Regions from separate parts of the Homo sapiens genome. Here region 2 is linked to region 1. The links are contacts of gene promoters, found by promoter capture Hi-C in blood cells and fetal thymus (Javierre and others, 2016). All regions are on one chromosome and are shown on one strand. Each heading gives the region's core, a stretch centred on a gene start or on the middle of the fragment in contact. The rest is flanking DNA. Distances are from core to core; before and after follow the strand shown.

Region 1 (6,044 bases), core at 621-3,120:
AACTTTAGAGCTTCCATTATTTCACAGGCTTCAGGCTAATGGATTTCCGCGTCACACTATTTTTCATGCTTTAAGTCCTTCAACCAACAACTCTAACACCATATAAAATCTGCTCTTGTCTGTTACCTAATGTTCACATGTTTGAAACCTTTACAAACGTTATATTTCAACAGCAGGAAAAATCTTGTTTCCTAGAAAAGCACTGAAATCTGTTTTCAGGCTAAGAGAGAAAAGGTTTGGCTGGGTGCGGTGGCTCATGCCTGTAATCTCAGCACTTTGGGAGGCAGAGGTGGGCGGATGGCTTGAGCCCAGGAGTTCAAGAACAGCCTGGGCAACATAGTGACACCCAATCTCTACAAAAAATTAGCCGGCATCTGTAGTCCCAGCTACTCAGGACGCTGAGAGGTGGGAGGATCGCTTGATCCTGGGAAGTTGAGGCTGCAGTGAGCTGTGTTTGCACCACTGCACTTCAGCTGGATGACAGAGCGAGGCCTTGTCTCAAAAAGAAGAAAAGAGAAGAGAAGAGAAAAGAAAAGGCAAGGCTTGCCAATGCAGTAAAATGTAAAGCTGATGACCTGGCTAAAGAAGAGACTCAGTTTTCAAGCTTTTCACAGTCTTCCTGGATGGAAAGCCCATTTCTAGATCAATTTAAATCCCCACCAAAAAGAACACATTTGTGTGATGCATATCTGGCTCCTGAATTATGTGTTTACAGAGTTTAAGATATTGAACCAAAGCCAATGAAATAGTCTTAAAACAAATTACTTTACATCGTATGTAATCACAGCTACAGATAAATCAATTGCTTCTTTTGCCAAATAGTACATCAGAGACTTCTATGAAAAGTTCAAATAAATGTGGTGTACTTGGTGGCTTCCAACAAGTGGAAGCGAATATTTTTGGCTTTCAGCACTACAGGAAAACATCACTTTAAATAATCCTTGTTTGTATCTGAAACACGGATCTGGATTGCTTCCTACACTAGAATCCTAATCTCTAAAGGAGATGATCAGATTTTGCACGGAAGCTAGAAGAATCAACCTGGAACAGATCACTCCTGCCCTACCTGTCCAGGCGGCGGACAGAAGCAGACAGACAAGTTTCAAGAAGTTAGGGAGTCACTAATGCGATGGTGATCCACGCACCGTGGGGGAAGCGGGGCAAGGGAGAAAGACAGGGGGCTTCCACCTTCCAGGCGCCCCTACACCGCTCCTGCCTTCACAGGCAGGCTGGGCCTGTCGGCTTTTCAAAAGGTCAAACACACTTGGTGGGAGAAAATCGTTGGTGGAGAAGACAAAACATTTTTGTTTTGTTTTCCGGGACACCACCCTCGAGGCTGCCAGACTAGACCCCGCGCGCGAGAAGGGTGCGGCGGGAGGCGAGGTCGCGGGAGGCGAGGTCGCGCGCGGTAGCATCTCCCGGTCCCGCGGCTCGGAGTGCCCACCCCTCCCGGACTTCTCGGGGCGGCTTTTTTTTTTTTTTTTTTTTTTTTAACTTTTCATGCACCACCCCCCCCACCCGCCCCGCCCCGCCCCGCCCCGCGCTGGGTGCAAACCTGCTGGAGAGGCCGGGCGCCGTGGGGCCTCACCTGCACGCCCCGCCGCCGCAGGACGGGAGCCGGGAGGGCAGCGGACGGGCCCGGGCTGCCCGACGGGGCTGCGGGGAGCCGGACGGCGCGAGCTGCGGGGCCTCTGGGAGCCTGGTGGGCGGCGGGCGGGGCCGAAGGCAGAGCCGGGAGCCGCCTGCAGCAGCAGCCTCGCCGCCACGCCCTCGACGCCGGCGAGAGCGGCCCCCTGGGCTGGGACTAGGGCGGTGTCCCGGCTGAGCTAGGCTGCCGGCGCCGCGCGCCCGCCTCGTCCCCTCCTGTTCTGGCAGGGCGCGCGCACGGCGGCGCAGGCGCCAGAGCCCAGGACAAGGCGGGGACCCGGGCGGGGACCGGGGCGGGGGCGCGCGGGGGCCGGGGTGGGGGTGTCTCGCCGCGCGCGCCCTCCTCCCGCTCCTCCGGGTTCCTGGTCCCCAGCCTGTGGGGGGCTTGGGCTGTAGCGCTGGGGCGGGGGCTTTAGATCACCCCGAAAACAGGACCTCTGGCGACCTTCTCGTTTTCCACCGGGAGCGGAGAGAGCCGATCTCCTTTTCCTGCTAGCCCCGTAGGACAGTCCCCGGAGCAGCTCATAGGAATATGACGAACGTTTACTCAGGGCTGGTTACTATGTACACTGCGCCCCGCGCGCGGCGAGTTTACCTCGGTTCACCTCCCGGCAACCGGCGGCCCGGATATTATCAGATGCTGTGGGCTTCCCGGCGCCTCATTGCCCGAGGAGAGGCGGCCGCAGGTAGCTGAGCTGGAGCTAGCACAAGGTGTGGGACGGCACAGGCTGGGTCCCGCCCTGGCGGGTACAACCCTCTTCCCCTTACCCACTCCTTCCCCTCCCCTCCCATCCCCTCCCCTCCTCTCCTCCCCACTCGTGCTCTTCTCCCTCCTCCCGCTCTCCCTCCTCCTCTTACTCCTCTTCACCCTATGCCCTATCTACCGTTGTCATACAATCCACATGTTTAATGCTTTCTTTTTCGTGTAAAAACCCTTCCACGCAGTCTTGCTTGTCTCCGACGCCTTAGGAGACCATGGGACATGATTACAACTATTACGCAAAGGGAAGAGCCGGGGTCTAAGCTGTTGAGCGAGTTTCAGTGATAGGACCGAGGCTTACATTGGCAGGTATTATTACCACCAATAACAACTATGATGACAAAGCTCCTGAGCCCAACTTGGAAGGCAGCTGGTGTCTCTTCCCTTAGCCGGCAGAGAAGGAAGCAGGGTCACACAGCAGGGAAAATAACTGGGCTCATCTCCCACCTACAAGGACGCGCAGTCACGCAGTGGTGCGCACCCGTAGTCCCAGCTAACTCAGGAGGCAGAGGTGGGAGGATCGGTTGAGGCCAGGAGTCTGAGACCAGCCTGGACAGCATAGCAAGACTCCGTCTCAAAAAAAAAAAAAAAAAGGAATGTGCAGTTAGAAGAAAATCAGCTCTCATTACCCACTCAAGACCTTTCAGAGGCAAAGTGAGGCACAGTGAAGCTTAACATCAAAGGCACTCAGCGCCTGCATCATGGGGCAGGAAGATGGACTAAAATGTGTACAGCACATCTAATCCCTGTTAGATGTAAACTAAGAAATCAGGGTTGGATTATGACCCCAAGGGCTCCCCAGCAGTTGAGCCCAGCATAGTCACCGAGGTATGTCCAGCAGATCGCCCCTCCTACTTCCTGCTTGCTGCTTCTGTGGTTCCTGCTGCCTCCAACCGTGCTGCTCCTGCTCCCCATCTTGTCTTAAACTAAGTTCTTCACTTTCATTCGTTTAACTAATATTGATGGCAAGCTGCTTCTTTTGTCAAGGTCACTCTAAGGACTATAGTAATTATTTTTTCTCTAAATTCCTCTAACACAGCAACTTTTGCAAAAATTGAGGGTTGTTTTTTTTTTTTTTTTTGGTGTTTTTTTGTTTGTTTTGAGATGGGTCTGCTCTGTTGCCTAGGTTGGAGTGCAGTGGCACAATCATAGCCTCAACCATCCAGGCTCAAGTGATCCTCCCATCTCAGCCTCCTGAGTAGTTGGGACTACAGGCACATGCCACCATGCCTGGCTAATTTTTCTACTTTTTGTAGAGACAAGGTTTCACAATGTTGCCCAGGCTGGTCTCAAACTCCTGAACTCAAGCAATCCTCCTGCCTTGGCTTCCCAGAGTGCTGGGATTATAGGCGTGAGCCATTGCACCTGGCCAAAAAATTGAGTTTTCACATCAAATGAGATTGGAAACAGCTGCATTCCATAGCCCTGCCTGGAGATGTCTGATGCACGTTCACACAAAAAAAATGGCCCTGAGAGATCCTAAGTCAAACAACCAGATTAGCTTAATTTAGTTTCCCTGAGGTATTAGGCCCTGTGTGGGTGTTGGGCTTGCAAGGGTAAGGTCCATAGAGATCTGCCACCTGAGGAGCTCACAGATGGGGGAGACAGTGATTGTGATACAGTTGTATTTGTGCACTGAGACATTTGCAAAGTGCTGACAAAGCAGAGGAAGAAGTGAGCAATCCTACATGATGGTTCAGGGAACGGGGTTCGCATTTTCCAGTATTATTCAAGATTCTCTTTTTTTCATGGAATACATCAATCAGACTGGGTTAAGCAGCAAATGGAATGCATTGACTCACATAATAGAAAAGTTTGGGGCTTCAGGCATGGCCGGATTCAGGGGCTTAAACTACGACATTAGGATTAAGTTTTTTCTCTCCATTTTTTTTTTTTTTTTTTGAGACGGAGTCTCGCTCTGTCGCCCAGGCTGGAGTGCAGTGGCGCGATCTCGGCTCACTGCAAGCTCCACCTCCCAGGTTCATGCTATTCTCCTGCTTCAGGCTCCCGAGTAGCTGGGACTACAGGCGCCCGCCACCACGCCCGGCTAATTTTTTGTATTTTTAGTAGAGATGGGGTTTCATCGTGTTAGCCAGGATGGTCTCGATCTCCTGACCTCGTGATCTGCCCACCTCGGCCTCCCAAAGTGCTGGGATTACAGGCGTGAGCCACCGCACCCGGCCTCCATTTCTTGACTCTATTTCCTGTTGACTTTGCGTTCTTAGGCTTCCTTTTCCCCATGAGATGGCAGAATGGCTGCTTACAATTTCAGATCACACCCTTTCCAGCAGAAAGGGAGTTTCTTTTCCCTGATGCTGTCAACAAAAGTCCCAGGACTACATCCCATTGGTCTAACTTGTGTTACCCGTGCATCACTAAACCACTCTCCTGAGAAGGGGCATGGAACATTCTGACAGCTCCTCACAAATCGCGTGGACTGAGATTTGGGGAGAGGTGGCTTCCTGTGCTAGATCATTTCTGTTGGCCCTTCCAGACCTACTCTCCACCCTTTTCCTTCCTGATTTGAACCTCAAGAGGCCAACCTGCATGGACTGCTTCCACAGATCCCTTGTCCTCTGACTTACAGTTGAATTCACCAAATAGAAGACATTGGAAATGAGACCCGAGGGTTGGAGGAGGAGGAAGGTAAGGGTATTATTCCTCTGGCCCCTGCCCTTCTGGGTCGCTGCAGGTTGGCTACATGTATTTATTGAAGCTTCTGTCAACTGGCCTTCTTCACACAGCTACTCTCTCCTAGTTCTAGTAAATTCTCCCTTCTCCACCTCCAGAATTATCCACCCTGGAGGTGATAATGGCTCCCCTCTGTTGCCTGCCACAGTGTATCACACCATCAGCCCTGCTTTTTCCCTCAACCCTGCCCACACATCTGTATGTAACCTTTACTAAACCCCCTTTAGATTAATCATCTGCTGGGATGCTGATGGTTACATTCAACAAAGGAGATTCAAGTCTCTATTACCAAAAGAAAGGGGAATGAATCAAGGGCAGGCAACAGCACTATGGTACTGATATTGGTTTGGAAGAAGTATCACCATAGTGCAGACCACAGATGACTGTGGCTTGGACAGGGTCGTGATGGGGGAAGCAATGAGAAATGGTAGGATTCTGGCTATATCTCAGAGGCAATGTTAACACAGTTTACTGAGGAATTGTATGTAAATCATGAGCAGTAGAGAGGAGCTGAGGGTGGAAGTAGTTGGAAAACATGCATCTGGAGCCTAGGAGTGAGCTCAATGAGTAGTGATTTGGGAGGGAGGCGCGTTAGTTAGTTGAAACCACGGGCTCAGATGAAATGACCCGGGGAGCCCACGTAGAATAGAACACAGAAAGGGCAAAAGGCAGAATCTAGAAGAACAAACACCAGCCTTTCCATGGTGAACAGAGGAAGAGTTGCCATCTTGTATCTATCGTCTAGATCGTGGGCAACTCGATAACTTGAGCGCAAGAACAGAATCTTCCACATCCTTCCTTTTTACCATCGTGTCTAGCGAGGTGATGACCACACGGTGGGTAATCAATGCTTGTTATGAATGAACTTGACAGTTCCACATTTCTAACACTCCCTCCCTCTCCTTCTCATGTGAGGTTTGAGTTACAGGCCGAGAAAAAGAGAAAT
Region 2 (5,252 bases), core at 926-3,425, 520 kb before region 1:
CTTCCTGCCCTCAGTTTCCCCCTCGTGCCTCCCTGGCCCGTGCTGCCTCTTGCTAGGCCTCTAGGGCAACCAGGAGAACCCCACAGAAGAGGCAGCAGTGATGGCAGGTGGTGGGCACCGAAGCCCAAGCCCCTCAACCGTCCTCAGAGCATTTGATGTCAGAAGGCAGTATTTGTTTCCAAGGCCAGCTGCACTGCTGCTTGGTGTGCCCCTGCTCCTCTGCATGATTCCTACCTGGCGTGGCTGCTGCTGTGGCTTCTTCCGTGGTCATCTATCCTTTCCCCCCTTGCTGGCCTGGCTGCACCCCCTGAACACTGCATTGCCCCTGTTGGCGTGGCTGCTGCAGCCACTGTAGCCCTTATGTGGGCAGAAACGGCAGCGCCTTTGCTGGCATGGCTGGTCTGTGGTCAGATAAGCTGCTCCCCACCCACCCTGGCATGGCCACTGGGAAGCACGCTGTGGTCCACTGATGGCCTCTGCTGCCAGGATCCAGGTCTGAGGCCACAGCTGTCTGCATCAATGGCAGTGCTCGAGGCACTCACTGGACATCTCTAGATGGCGGCTGCTGTTCCTTCAATGGGGGCAGCCCAGCCTCACTTTGAAGTCCATCACTCAAGGGACCCCAGCTCCTCCAAGACCCTGGACCCCCAAGACTCTCTGTGCCCACCTCTTCCCAGAACCTCTCTCTGGCCCTGGTGATCTTTCGACTCCCAAGGATGGAGCTGAGTGGTCCTTTCTTACGGGACTTCAGGGTAGCAGAGAGTGGCAGCAGGACAGGGGACCTTCCTCCCTGCTCCCATAATGCTCCAAGGCCATCACAAATAGCCCGGGATCTCCAATAGCCCGTGGCACAGCTGCCCTGGGAGAGTAGGCTACTCTGAGACCGCCTGTCTCCCCCAAACCCTCATCAGGCAGCAGTTTCAAGGCCTGTGTTCTCCAGGGGGCATCAAAGGGATTTCTGTATAATGACAGAGAAGCTTCTGGAAAATTTTCATGGCCATTGGTGCTCCAGGCTTCTCCCAGCCTCTGGCCACCTTGGTGGTACTTATTCAGTCCACAAACCTTGGGGACCTACTGTGTGCCAGAGACTGTGCTTGCCGTGGGGATGGGGCAATGGGAGGCCAGACCCATCTCTACCCTGGGGACACTCACAGTCTGGGTGAGGACACAGGCGGAAACAGTGATTTAGCTGCCGTGGTAGTGAGTACACAGAGACTCGCTGTGCGTCACCAGGGTACCTGACAGAGACAATCCTGGAAAGTTCCTGGAGGAAGTGACCTTCCAGCCCATCTCTGAGCCTTGGGGAGGATATAGTCAGGCAATTGGGGAAGGGTCAGTGCTTCAGGCAGGGGAAGAGCATGTGCAAAGCCTCTGAACAGAAGGGGCATGCCCTTTATAGCCTTGAGTCCAAATCCTTATTAGTTACGTTTGCCAGGGACAGGTTGGCACAGTGGCTAAAGGCTGGGGCTCTGGCATCACATGGCCTAGGTTTGAATCTCACTTTGCTGCTTACTAACTATGAGACAATGTATAAATTACTTGACCCCCTCCCCATCCTTCAGTTTCTTCATCTGTAAAATGGGAATATTACTTTACACGAATGGTCCTGCTGAATCCCAACAACACTTCGCAAAGCTGTTGGGATTCAATGGGACCATTCATGTAAAGCACTTAGCACACAATAAATGCTCAATAAATCTTACCACGAATCTCACCTACTGAGCATCTGTGTGTGTTCCGCAGTTTATCTTCACACAGATCTGTGAAGCTTGGACCCACTGCTCCATTTCATAGATAAGAAGACTGAGGGTTAGAGGACTGAATAAGGTGGAGATCGACTGAGGTTTTGGAGGAATCAGGGAGGCTTCTTGGAGGAGGTGGTGGCTGAGCTGGGTGTTGAGAATGGCCACCCCTGCCCCACCCACCAGTCAGGAAGGCTCACTCTAAGCAGAGTATTTCAGCTTCAGGGGCTCCACTGGTCCCGGGCTCCCTGGGTCTGGGGATGGAACAAAAGGGCTGCCCTGGGCACTCCCAAGGCCTCCCAGGAGTCTCAGCAGGGAAGGCCCCATCGGGCCAGGTTCTCAGGCTACAGAGCCTCCAGCGAGCATCAAACAACAAAAAGGCTTTTCTCACTCTGGATGAGTCACCAGAGCGAGCAGACGCCCCGTCCCTGTGCTGAAGAAGATGAAACCACACATCTGAAGAAGTTTCCCACGCCACCACTTGCTTTAAATAGCTGCAGAGAGAAGTGGAGGAGGGAGGGAAGGGGAGAGGGGGTAGGGAAGCAGGGCTGTCCGCACCAGGACCTGGCTGGGGTCTCCCCCATACCCCAGGACCCTGACACGCACCCCTTGAAGCAGGTTGTTGATGAGAACTCAGGCCCCATGGGTGCCAGGGGAGCCCAGCAGAGGCCCAGAGCCCACGGTGGGCCAGGGCACAGCAGACAGATAGGCAGACAGCAGGAGACACATCCAGCTGGGCCGTGGGGTGCACACCCCTGTGTCAGGGTGCAGGCCCAGGAAGGGGGAAGTTGACCTCACTGTGCACCCCGGTGCAGCCTCTAGGCCCCCAGCCAAGCTTCCTCGCAGGTCACCTGACACCCCTGAGTGCTCTGGCTGTGCCCCCCTGCCTGGCTAGGTTCGTGACTGAGCCCTGGGCGGCATTTCCGGAGGCAGGCCGGGAGCTGGGGCTGCTTACGCACTTGCTGTCCCCCCCCGCCTCCAGCAGGGCCGGGTGAGAAGAGAGCCCCCCATCCCCCCCTTCCCGTAAATGAGCTCACCCCCACCCCAGGGCCTCACAGGGATTCTAAGAAGTGGAAGCCAGGCACCTGCTCCTCGCCCACAGCAGGGGGTGGGGGTGGGGTAGGAGGGGGAGGGGCAAGGGAGAGGCCAGGGGTCCTCATAACCCCTCAGCTCAGCCCTCAGGCCTAGGCCAGGGTTCAGGGGCGGCCCCAGGGGTTGGTAAATATTCTTTCCCTTAGGTGTGGAAGAATGCCCTCTCTGTTGTCCATGCGAGAGCAGTGCAGTTCAGGATGCCTCCATGGCCCGGGCCCATTTTTCAGAAGGCAAACTAAGGGAATCCCAGAGATGCCTTGGAGGCCAGTCTGGTTCCCTCCCACGCTGGGAGTAAGATCACCTCCTGGATGTTCGGGCAGCCCTTGGTGACCATCAGTGGCTCACTAAATATCTGCCTTTGGAGACCCTCTAAGCCAAGGCCCAGAGAGGGCAGTGATTTGTCCAAGGTCACACAGCAGGCCGGGGGAGGTCCAGGCATACCTCTAGGTGAGTCCATACCCTGCCCAACCCACCAGTACTGCCAGCAAACATTCATTTGGCATCTACTGGATCCTTTGCAGGGACATGGGATTAAATAAGACAGCATCCCACCGACGGGGTCCAAAAAATAATCATGAGCAGTCGCCAGAACCTGGGCCAGGGGATCTCAGTGCTGCCTTCTCATCCAGGTCTCGAGGCTTTGAAAAAATACAGATTCCAGGGCTCCAGCCCTGAGATTAGGATTCAGCAGACTGGGAAGGAGCCCAGGAACCTGCATTTTATAAAGTTCCTCTAGTTGATCTGATGGATTGAGAAGCTTGGAACAGACTGTAAGCAAATTGAGGGCAGGGGCTGCCCCGAAGGAGGGGAGGGGTTTTCCAAGGGCTTCCAGTGAGAGACACACACCCCAGCCTTCCCCTCCCACACCAACCTCTGCCTGTACACAGGGCCCAGCCCAAAGAGGCTTCCAGGAACGAGGCACTGACAAGAATAGTTCCAAGAGGCTGAATGACGGCCCCCGCCTCTCTCTGCTCTCCCCACTCCCGAGTTCACATGCAGGACAGGGTGGCCATGCTCCAGGCAGCCAACGAGGTGGGCGATCCCACTGTGGACGGCTCTGCCTGGTGTTAGGGCCCTGGCCTGTGCCCTCCGTCCCCCGTCTGCACCCTCCCTGAGGTCCCTGCGGCCCAGGCTGGGTGGCTCCAGGCCTCCGTAGGCTGTAGGTCCTGGGGTGAGGGGGAGTCTCTTGTCTGTCCAGAGAGTATGAGGCTGGGAAAGGCGGGGGTGCTAGGACCTGCAGCTAAGGTGTGTGCGGGCTCGCTTCCTGGTACTCGAGGAGTTTGGTGCTCCCGGGCCTGGTAGCGTGGGAAGCAACATGGAGGCCCTGGGCTGGGCTGTCCCTGTGTGCCTGGCAGAGCATCCAGCCAGGACCAGGCTCAGTGAGGACTCATGGACCGACTGATCTGGGGATGTGGGTGGCAGAAGCTGCCCCCTCCCTGTCTCTAACGCAGTGCCCAGCTCGGCCACCTCACGAGGCCACTGTCCTCTCAGACTCCATGTCTGCTTCTGTGCAATGGGCAGCAGGGGTGGGAAGAGAAAGGCTTGTCCAGGGCCACAGTGGGGCTAGAGGGAGCAGCCAGGCCCCTCAGCAGGCCTGCTCCTAGCGCCAGGGGCCACATCCCCACAGCCTCCGCTTTTGCAGAGGGCAGGGGAGACAGAAGTCACCGAGAGGAAGTAGAGAGCCCTCCCCAGACCCATCTGAGTGGGGCTGCCAATCGCCGGCTCTGGAGCTTCGAGCAGGGCATGGTGCCACGCCTCTCAGAACCCCATTTTCTCATCTGTGCAGCAGAGACCCCCCGACTCCAGAGGGCTGCTTTGAGGGTTAAATGAGCAAAATCTCGTGAATGTGTGAGGAATAGTCATTATTTCGATAGGCGTGATTGACATTTTTCTCACTAGAGTGTGAGTTCCAGGGGCAGGGGTTGTGCCTGACATTGGTAGGTGCTCAGTTGGTTTGTGGAGTGAATAAACGAGTGTAGAGGGAGCCGTTCTCTTGGCCTGTGCTGGAGGCTTCCTGGGGCCTTGTTCAGCACATGTGTGTGCTCACGTTTGTGTGCACCCATGTGTGTAGGCATGCATGTGCATGTGTATGTGCAGGCATGTATGTGTGTGCACGTGTGTGTAGGCATGTATGTGAATATGTGTGTGCAGGTATGTATGTGTGTGCAGATGTGTGCATGCAAGAATGTATGTGTGTATGCATGTGTGTAGGCATGTATGTGAATGTGTGTGTGCAGGCATGTATGTGTGTGTAGGTGTGTGTATGCAGGTAGGTATGTGTGTGCATGTGTGTGTGGGCATGTATGTGAATGTGTGTGTGCAGGCATGTATGTGTGCGTGTGCAGGCATGTATGTGTGTGTGCAGGTGTGTGTGCGCGCAGGTGTGTGTGCAGGCATGTGTGTGTCCGGGCATGTACG

The links. Contacts are between HindIII fragments. The CHiCAGO score rates a contact against its expected background, and 5 or more counts as called.
Region 2: a fragment that was not itself captured here is called in contact with the fragment with the promoter of RCAN3 in region 1 in 1 of 17 cell types (naive CD4 T cells); the score reaches 5.9 in naive CD4 T cells.

Annotation. Positions count from the first base shown.
Region 1 is chr1:24,498,662-24,504,705 of GRCh38, reverse strand. It overlaps RCAN3 (RCAN family member 3), which reads right to left and starts at 1,870. Exons shown (of 5, transcript NM_013441.4): 1 at 1,556-1,870. It overlaps RCAN3AS (RCAN3 antisense RNA), which reads left to right and starts at 2,324. Exons shown (of 2, transcript NR_144360.1): 1 at 2,324-2,358. RefSeq lists silencers at 1-21, 1,528-2,027, 2,309-2,481 and an enhancer at 3,085-3,184. The HindIII fragment of the contact is 2,473 bases long and covers 607-3,079 here.
Region 2 is chr1:25,019,922-25,025,173 of GRCh38, reverse strand. It overlaps MIR4425 (microRNA 4425), which reads right to left and starts at 1,671; the gene lies at 1,588-1,671. RefSeq lists enhancers at 1-42, 2,044-2,573, 1,473-3,035, 3,914-4,023, 3,514-4,040 and 2 more. The HindIII fragment of the contact is 809 bases long and covers 1,771-2,579 here.